3 separate regions of the Homo sapiens genome follow, and all the other regions are linked to region 2. The links are contacts of gene promoters, found by promoter capture Hi-C in human tissues and cell types (Jung and others, 2019). All regions are on one chromosome and are shown on one strand. The core of a region is centred on a gene start or on the middle of the fragment in contact, and the rest is flanking DNA. Distances in the headings are between cores, read along the strand shown.

What was found. The method cuts DNA at HindIII sites, captures the fragments that hold promoters and counts their contacts. A contact is called where the count stands out against the background at its distance.
Region 1: a fragment that was not itself captured here is called in contact with the fragment with the promoter of GPRIN3 in region 2 in 3 of the 25 tissues and cell types used here (H1 embryonic stem cells, hippocampus and liver).
Region 3: a contact is called between a fragment that was not itself captured here and the fragment with the promoter of GPRIN3 in region 2, in 1 of the 25 tissues and cell types used here (liver).

Annotation. Positions count from the first base shown.
Region 1 is chr4:89,457,614-89,460,932 of GRCh38, reverse strand. LOC105377328 (a long non-coding RNA gene) reads left to right here. Exons shown (of 4, transcript XR_938981.2): 4 at 716-3,319. Among named protein-coding and RNA genes, the nearest start is that of GPRIN3, 150 kb to the right of the region's middle. The HindIII fragment of the contact is 4,473 bases long and covers 1-3,319 here.
Region 2 is chr4:89,305,949-89,309,165 of GRCh38, reverse strand. GPRIN3 (GPRIN family member 3) reads left to right here and starts at 1,366. Exons shown (of 2, transcript NM_198281.3): 1 at 1,366-1,551. RefSeq lists silencers at 1,287-1,356, 1,367-1,416. The HindIII fragment of the contact is 18,564 bases long and covers 1-3,217 here.
Region 3 is chr4:89,146,183-89,149,403 of GRCh38, reverse strand. No RefSeq gene overlaps it. Among named protein-coding and RNA genes, the nearest start is that of TIGD2, 36 kb to the right of the region's middle. The HindIII fragment of the contact is 5,835 bases long and covers 1-3,221 here.

The sequences.
Region 1 (3,319 bases), core at 757-3,256, 150 kb before region 2:
TTGCCATGATTTTTTACTCAAACCTGTGAAGAACAATCCTTTTTTTGTTAAACAGCTTATTCTTTACAATAAAGGACATGACACCCTTACAAATGATGTTTGCAAAGTATTTTCAAGCAAAATTAAAGTAGTATAACTCTATCATTAAGATCTCATGCAAGGCAGATGGGTTCCACGTGGTAACAACGTATTGCAGACTACCTTGACATTGATTTGAATGGAACCTCAAGGAACCAGTAAAGATTCCTGTGCTCTTCGTGCCTGTCTCTCACCTCTCCCAGGGCCTTGCTCCATCAATTATTTGCACTCTGTCTTATACATTCTTCACTTCAACCCACAAAAACATCAAGTCTCTCTTATTCTAAAAATTTCCATTCTCTCCAGTTCTATTCAACATACTTCCTCATAATCTCTGCCAAACTTCTTAGAAAATATAGTGCATTTTCATTCATCCTATACCAGTCCTCATTGAGATAGAGAGTTCTAGCTGCCTATCTTGTATCCACACTCCTGTTCTTTGTACCTAACTGCTCCCTGATCAATGCCCACCTGAAATATTTTATTTCCCAGTCTTTCTGACCACTGTTGATCTTCAATGGGTTCTAAGCAGAGGTTAGGTGGACTTTTTTAAAAAAGTGTCATAAACTAAGTTTACAATATTGACATGTACCTTCTTGCCATTAGTTCTTTCTCCTTCCTCCTGTCTGGAATACAGGCGCAGTGGCCAGAGCTCCAGCAACCATCTTGGACAATGAAAAAACCTTCACAATGATAGCCATGGCGAAACACAGTGGAGTAGGAAGATAAAAGAGACTGAGAACCGGATAACCACGGAGTTCCATACCAGCTCTCCTGATACCTTTCATAAAAGAGTGAAATGAGCATCTACCTTTTTGTTTTGCTTCATTATTATTTGGCTGGGTTTTCTTTTAAGTTACCAATAGTCTATTTTTACTTGTACTTTAGCTGCTTTTATGTATTAATATACCATTGAATGCATGTAAATCTTCATATAAGTCATAAACTATGTAAGATTAGATAACACAGTAGACCCCACCCCAATTTACAGGAGCTATTTTACAAGACCCTCTATGGATGCCTGAAACTGTACATAGTACCAAACCCTATATATACTATGTCTCTTCCTATACATACATACTTATGATAAAGTTTAATTTATAAATTAGGCACAGTACTCTTGTGCTTTAGGGCCATTATTAAGTAAAGTAAGAGTTACTTGAGCACAGGGATACAATACTGCAACAATTGATCTGATAACCAAGATAGCTACTAAGTGATAATGGACAATGCCAGACAAAGGGAAGTTAAGCCTCAGGAGGGACAGCATGGGCCATTGCAAGATTTCATCATGCTGCTTAGAATGATGCACAATTTAAGATGTATGCATTGTTTACTTCTAGAATTTTCCATTTAATATTTTCAGACCACAGTTAACTTGGGTAACTGAAACTGTGGAAAACAAAACTGTGCCTAAGGGGGGACTACTGTGTTATTTAAAGCTTTAAACTTTAATTTCAAAAAATATACAACATTTTAAGAAAATATAGTTCAGTGCATATACCACATTGATTTTAATTAGTTGATCTTTTATATACATGTTTATCTATGCAAGAATATGTGTAAGAAGTGTATGGAAGTTCAGTTGTTTTCTGATTTTATGACTTCTGATAAGCTTAGGAATTCCTTAGATAAATAGGAATTATTTACTAATTATTTTTAAGGTCGTGCAGTCAAATAAAATTCACAGAAATGAATCTCAAGTTGATATTAGAGAAAAATGCAATCATTGTTAATATTAAAAATTCCTCAGTAAAAGAAATATATTTTAAGATTTTATGTATACACAAATTATTGTTTTTATTTGAGCCAAACTTAATTGATACACTCGTGTGCCCCTCAACCTCTAAAATCTTTTTTCATCTTTTTCCTCTAACAAAACTCCTCTCTTAAAGGTCTTTAGTTAACTCAAGTTGCCAAATTCAATATTTAAATGCTAAATCCAAGAGCCTCATGTCATTTCTCCTCTACTTTTGATCACACAAACCATTCTTCTTTTTTTTTCCTTCATTGTTCACTCCTGGGTTTTCTCTTACTTCTCAGATCAGTCTCTTTCATTTTCATTAACTCTTTTCTTCTAGCTCCCTGTTAAGTATTAGCTTCCTATAGTCTATGTCCAAGCCCAAGCATTTCTTCTTACTGTATATCTCATACAATGCCTAAACTTAACTTCCTATGATGACAATGCTTCCAAAACTTACATCTTAATCTGGATATTTTGCTTGAGTTCCACATTCATGTTTCATAGTTCTTGTGGCCCCACAAATATATCCTGTCAACAAATTTAGATGGGCGTAAAAGTCACTATCATTCCCTGAGAGTCTGTCACATTTTAGACTCTGCTCTGCTCCATGACTTGGGCAGGGAGGAGCAGTCCTACTGAAAACAGCCCACAATATCCTCACCCAAGAGGAAATGACAAAGATAAAAACCTTGTGCCTCTGAGTGAAAGCTCTCTGTTTCAAGTAAGGAAAGTCCAAATCTACCTGGTTTAAGTGAATAAGGAAACACACTGGCTCATATACCTGTAAATTTCTGGAATAAACTAGGGGCAGTATGGTTTGACCCAGTAGTTTAATCATTGTCTTCAGGAATACTAATTTTTCCTCTCTACTTCTTGGTTTTGTTTTGCACTTTGCTGGCTTCTTTCTCAATTATATTCATCTCAGTGGTAACGAAGATGGGCAATAACATCTATAAGCTTATATTTAACGAATTTAAAATTTTTAGTGGGAAGAAATTTCTTCCCCAATAATTCAAGCAAAACTCAAGGAATCATTCTCGTTGGCTTGGGCTAGGTCACCGTCCCCTAAGTGATCATTAAAACTTTCACTACCTCCCTTCCACCCAAATAAGTGGGCCCACTGACCTGGACCTCTTGATATTGTGATATAATAAGAAACATATAGTTGGGCTTCATCCATAGTTCCTGGCACAAAGCTTCTAAAACCCTTGTATTTTGTTATAATATTTGGTCTTTATGCCCAATTCTGGACACAGAGCTTCTAAAACCCTTGGAAGTTCCTGAGAGATAGGGGTCAGAGGACCATCTTTTGTTATTCATAATAAGCCTCTTTCAACCATACCTGAGTTTCTACTAATAAGATGACTTTTGATGGACTTCCAGATAGCTTCAGCATGAGAGCTTGTTGCTACAGGAATCAACCATTGATTAGAAGGTTGAAACTTTCAGCCCCATCCCCCAGCCTTTGGGGAGATAAGAGGGGCTGGAAATTGAGTT
Region 2 (3,217 bases), core at 117-2,616:
ACGCCTGTAATTCCAGCACTTTGGGAGGCCGAGGCGGGCGGATCACCTGAGGTCAGGTGTTCCAGACCAGCCTGGCCAACGTGGAGAAACCCTGTCTCTACTAAAAATACAAAAATTAGCCGGGCGTGGTGGTGGGCGCCTGTAATCCCAGCTACTTGGGAGGCTGAGGCAGGAGAATCGCTTGACCCCGGGAAGCGGAGCTTGCAGTGAGCCGAGAGCGCGCCACTGCACTCCAGCCTAGGAGACGAAGCAAAAAACAAAAAACAACAACAACAAAAAACTAAAAAAGCGTTTCCTCAGTCCCTACCCCAGACCTATTGGATCACAATCAGCATTTTAACAAGACCCCCTAGGTGAGTCCTGTGTACTAGATGAGAGGATATATTTTGGATTGGTTTGAATCCCAGCTGAGCAGGTTACTACTGTGTGACCTCAAGCAAAGTGTTTAGATCATATAAGCCTGTTTCCTCGTCCACATGGTAAGGCACCTCAATGGGTTGTAGTAAGAATTAAAGAGGCTGAGGCTGTATGTAAGGCATTTTTCACAGAGCCTTCCAACAAATACCCAGTTAATAATGAAGCTCTTTTCATCGTATCATTTTGCACCATCTACAGCTGCTAACCATACTACACATCCATTCAGGATTCTGGAGCTGCTCAACAGGGAAGATTTCCAAAGCCCTCAAAGCCCTCCAAGCCCATGGGGTAGCGGGAAGGGGATGGGGACAGGAACACTGTCAGCAGTGCCTCTCCGAATACGCAGGATACTGTACATTTTGCAAAACATATTACTTATCGGATGATCTTGCTTTCAGATCTCCACTGCACGTGGCTTTATTGGAAACCTTCTGCTAGAGTCTAGACTCAGCCATGGAGTCTGGTGACCTGTGGGAGGGAGCAAGGGCCAGAATGCCTGCTAAATCGCTCTGGGTCCCCAGCCCTCTTCCTTAATCCCTTCTTAACTTTCCATCTGTCTCTGGTCTCCAGGGGTGCAGAACCACAACCCACCAGACCCCTCCTAGCTCCCGGCCCGGCGCTCAGCAGCCTGGGCTGCAACACTTTCCCCCAGGACCGGGAAGGCGGGGGAGGGGGTTTGGAGGGGGCGGAGCTCGGCCTCCTGCTGCCGCCGCTGCTGCTGCCGCCGCCGCCGCCTGCAAAGCTGTCGCCCCTCTCTCGGATGCTCAGGCTGGGCAGCGCTGGACAGATGGGTACACCCCGGGCCTGACGGATGAACAGTCGGGCAAGTGAACTCTCACCTCCAAACTGGCTCTGCGCCCGGCGGGGGCGGCGGCGGCGTCTGCAGCCCCGCGGTGGGGGCAGCCCCCTCGGTCTACGCCCGACTGCTGCGCGCCGCCTCTGCTCTTGGCATAGTAATTTCAGTTCCTGAACGCACGGAGCTCGCTCCGGGACCGGGCTGAGAAGGACCTCAGCTCGCGGGCCCGCCGGAGCCATCGGTGTGGCGCCGAGAGACGGTGCTTGGGATATGCGACGGGAAGCCCCCGCCACAGCGCAGGCAGTGGCCCCGCCGCGCCGCGGAGCCGGGCAGAGCAGGTAGGAGACGCCCCCTGCGCACCTCCGCCTGGCGGCCAGCGCGGGGGACCGGAGCCTGGTGGTGTGCTCTGTAGGGATGCGGAAGGGATTCGGTCCCACATTTTGCACAGGGATCCTTTGCCTGTTGCTCTTGTCTCTGTCCCATCCTGCGCTCTAGGAGGGGCAGTCTTTCTCGCAGGTGATGAATTTCTCTGCAAGGTCATTGCTCTCTTTGGCTCTGGCTTTGAAGGTAAATGGGAGAAGACGCCTGCTGATCGTGGGCAGGGAAATTTATAATCAATCGGGTCTGCACACTGCGAATATCCGAATATGAGGGGTGTGTGTGTGTGTGTGTGTGTGTGTGTGACATTTGTCTCATTTTCCTATGCTTATCCCCTTTAAGGTCAAAACATAGAAATATATATTACATATGGATGTATGTATGTGTGTGTATATACACACACATACATAAATGCATATGTAAATAGGTTTTCTTGAGGTAGGCAGAAAGAAGAGGAAGGGCGGGCAGGGGTTGATAAAGGGAAATCGTTGTAGAGACATGTTCACTAATAGAGGCGAACTTTGGAACCACATTAAATCAGGGTAGAGACTAGAGGTGATAAACGGTTCTTTCAAGATGGGCTTTAGAAGAGGTCTGAAGGAGCCTGTCAGCCAACACACACAGAAGATCTTCATGCTCTCCAGGCAGATGGAAACGATGTAGGCATCATTTCAGACGCAATAATGGACAGTGAAAGAGGGAAAAAAGGAGAGGTACTTAATATGCCACTGGGAAGTGAATTTTGGGTGATGGGAAGGCATCGAATCCAGACCAGGTTTCAAGGGCTTTCTGGAGGGCCATTGGGAGAAATCACCGCTTGGGGTGTAGGCAGTTCAAGGTTAAGACGATGTGAATGTCCACAAAGCAGCCGAGGAGGTGGGCAAAAGGCAAGGGCTTGGAGGGGGAGGGGAGAAACAGAGCTCTGAGCAGTCACTCAAGAAGCACCCACCTTTGAGTAAGGTGTCTTCTTCCTCTTGGTTAAAGCGGTACTTGGGTATGCTCCATCTAAATATTTTCACAACACATTTGTTTAAAGATCCATTGGACTATGTTTTTATTTTGTTTTTGCAAGGTATCTGGGTCATGGTGGGACTAGAAGAAACTGAAGTGTTTACAACACCAGCAAGATTTGGGAGAGAGGGTTGATTAAGGCTTTGCTTCATGAAATATTTACACATCTCCTGCGTGGGCTTTTGTTTGCTCTTGTTGGTGCTGCTGCATATTTTACTTTGATAATGCTTTGAGTGTACTTCGCCCGAATGTGCTTATTTTCCAGTTATAACCTATTCTTTCTTTTCCCATTGTGCTCACCATTGGCCTGCCCTGAGTAACAATTGTGGGAATAAAGGTACATGAGTCACAGCCCAAAGCAGAAAATCTCTGCTGCTATCTGCAAAAGACAGGAGTTTGCGTTAGAGAATGTTCTTTTTCGAGTTTTTGTGTGTGTTTAGTTTTTCAAGTTTTGTGTGTCTTTAATCGAGGGAATAGGTTATTGATTCAAAAGAGAAAAAAAAAACAGCAATTGCAATTGCAGGCCTAGATGTTATATGATTGAAATTTATTTTGGAAACAGCAGAGGAACTCATGGAGAGCCATGTACAGTGTGTTGTGGTGTGGTGAGCCTTC
Region 3 (3,221 bases), core at 210-2,709, 160 kb after region 2:
AAATAAATGTCATACAGGACTTTCATCACTTGTATAGGTGACATTGTTTGGTTGTGTTCCAACCCAAATCTCATCTTGAATTGTAGCTCCCATAGCTCCCAGGTGTCATGGGAGGGAACTGGTGAGAGGTAATTGAATCATGGGGGTGGGTCTTTCCCATGCTGTTCTTGTGATAGTGAATAAGTCTCACTAGATCTGATGCTTTTATAAAGGGGAGTTCTCCTGCACGCTTTTTCTTGCCTGCCACCAGGTAAGCCATGCCTTTTCTTCTCCTTTGCCTTCCACCATGATCGTGAGTCCTCCCCAGCCATGTGGAACTGATGGCAGCAGTGGGCCATCTGGTGAGGCCACTGCCATCACACCGGCATCTACAGGGAGGGCATGATAGGAGGCAGACAGTCCCCTTTCCGCAGCCTGCCATCCTGGGGGCCACCGTAATGGGGCTGGATCACATGAGGGCAAGGGGGAGCTCCATGCTGCCCCGGAGCACTGGAGCCACATGAGGAGCTTGTGTCAACATTGCCCTGCCCCAGATACCAGCTCAGGCCCAGTGAGGACCTGGCGCCCCATCCCAGGCTGAAAGGGGTTGCGGCTAGGTGCCATGCTCCATAGATCTTGGTGGGACCCGGGGACAAGCAGGGGCCCTGCCTCTTCCAAGTTGGCAGAGAGGGAGCTCCCCCAGTGCAACTGCAGCTGCCCAAGCTGCAGCTGCAATTGGGCATACCTGTGCTCTTGGAAGCTGAGAATAAGCAGGAGCCAAGCCCTGCATAGCTGCAGCTGCCCCCCACCCCGCCTCCCTGCAAGCAGCTGCAGCCCATTGGCAAACCCAGGGATACCCGCACTCCTTGGGCATCTCCAAGTAGGGTTGGGGCCAAGCCTGGATGTTGTCACAGCCCAGATGGGTGTGCACACGTTCAGGGCAGTGCTGACATGCCAGCCCCCTGATGCCTCAGTCCTCTTCAGACTTTGGGCATGTAGGAACATGGGAAGGGAAGCTGAGGGGGCACTGAGGATGGCTGGGCACTGGCCTGCAGTTGCCCCTTGGTGCCAGCAGCCTGGGCCCCATGGATGACTGGGGAGACAGACATGCTCCTGGGTGGAAGGAGGTGGGTCCCCAGTGAAGTCTACCTTCAGGCTAGGATAGGCCTGAAGCCTGGGGCTGGGATGCCAGTTCTGCAGACCAGAGGAGGAACTCATGGTGCTTTTTCCTGAGCCCACCCATGGCTGTCCCTGGACAAATCAGCCCACACTTCTGCCTCTTCTGAGGCCCCATAAAAACCCTGGGCTCAGCCAGAGCAGGGCAGACGATGGAGAGACAATGGGACAACCAGCTGCAGAGAGGAGCTGCCCTCTTCACTGAGAGCTGCAGAGACAATGGGATGACCTGCTGGCAGAGAGGAGCCACCCACCGCAGGTCTCCTCTGAGCTGTTATAATACTCAAGAAAGCTCCTCTTCATCTTGTTCACCTTCCACCCTGTCTGAGTACCTTATTCTTCCTGGACACAGGACAAGAACTCAAGCAAAGGTGCACCAGCCACAAAGGTTTCCAGCCAGAAAAGCAATATCCGAAAGATCCTGCAATGGAACTGTGAATCCATTAAACCTCTTTCTTTTATAAATTTCCCAATCTTGAGTATGTCTTTATTAGCAGCAGGAGAACAGACTAATACAAAAGGCAAGATATAGTTTATTGGAACCATCAGGAAATTTAGAGATATTGATTAAGATGAATTTTTGCCTAGCTGGCTGGATCAATATCTTTGTAAATAAAGTATTGTAGGAATAAATATTCATATTCATAAAAGTGTGGATTTTTTTAGAGCTTACTAGTTTTGAAATACTGTTCTAAATGTCTGACCTGTATTAATTAATAATTCCTTTTATCACTCTACAGTATAAGTATTATTGTTATTCTCATTTTACAGTTGAGGAAACTGGGGCACAAAGAGATTAAGTAACTTGATCAAAGCCACACAACTATTAAGTGGCAAAACTAGGATTTGAACCAAGTAGTCTGGCACAAAAAGTTGTGCTCTTAATTACCATGAAATATCCTTGCATTTATATTCTAGTGGTGAAGCAAAACATATTACCATGATATGACATAAAAACAGTCATTTGTGCATATCAGAAATCAAAATGTTAATTAGCAAAAGAGAAGAACTGTACAGATTATTTTTTAAAGGCTGGCTGATGTGTTTAGTAATAACTTCAAAAACTTCAAGGAAAAGGTATATTATGAAAAAAATATTCATAGACTTCAAACTTTTTTGCACCAAAACAAACTCATACTAACTTGTCATAACAGGTCTGAACAGGATTTAGTTTGAGGCACTAAGAGGGTAAGACATCAGTTTGAAAAGAGCCCCTTACAGAGCAACATGAATTCTGTTGAAACTGAAGTAAGAACAAACATCACATTTATGATGAAGCTTTGGTGGAAGAATGGTGAAATCATTGATGATTTACAAAAAAGTTTATGGCCATGCACGGTGGCTCACACCTGTAATCCCAGCACTTTGGGAGGCTAAGGTGGGAGGATCACCTGAGATCAGGAGTTCAAGACCAGCCTGACCAATATGGTGAAACCCCATCTCTACTAAAAAATTGCCTGGCATGGTGGCGGGTGCCTGTAGTCCCACCTACACAGGAAGCTGAGACAGGAGAATTGCTTGAACCTGGGAGGCGGAGGTTGCAGTGAGCCAAGATTGTGCCAACGGCACTCCAGCCTGGGTGACAGCGAGACTCTGTCTCAAAAAACAAAAAAAAAACTTTATGGGAACAATGGCCTAAAGAAATCAGCAGTTTACAAATGGATAACTGGTTTTAAGAAGGGATGAGACAATGTTGAAGATGAACCCCACAGTGGCAAACCATCCACATTAATTTGTCAGGAAAAATTAATCTTGTTCATGCTGTAACTGAAGAGAATTGATTATTAACAGGAGAAACAACAGACAACACTGTCGACATCTTAACTGGTTCAGCTTACACAATTCTGACTGAAAATTAAAGTTGAGCAAACTTTCCACGCAATAGATGCCAAAATTGTTGTGCCTAGGTCAGCTGCAGACAAAGGCAGAGCTTTCAAGGGAAATTTAAAGTGAGATCAAAATCCTGATGCATTTTTTAAAAGAACTGTAACAGGAGATAGAACATGACTGAAGACAAAGCACAATCAAAGTAATGGCTACCAAGAGGTGCAAGTGGTCCAGTCAAA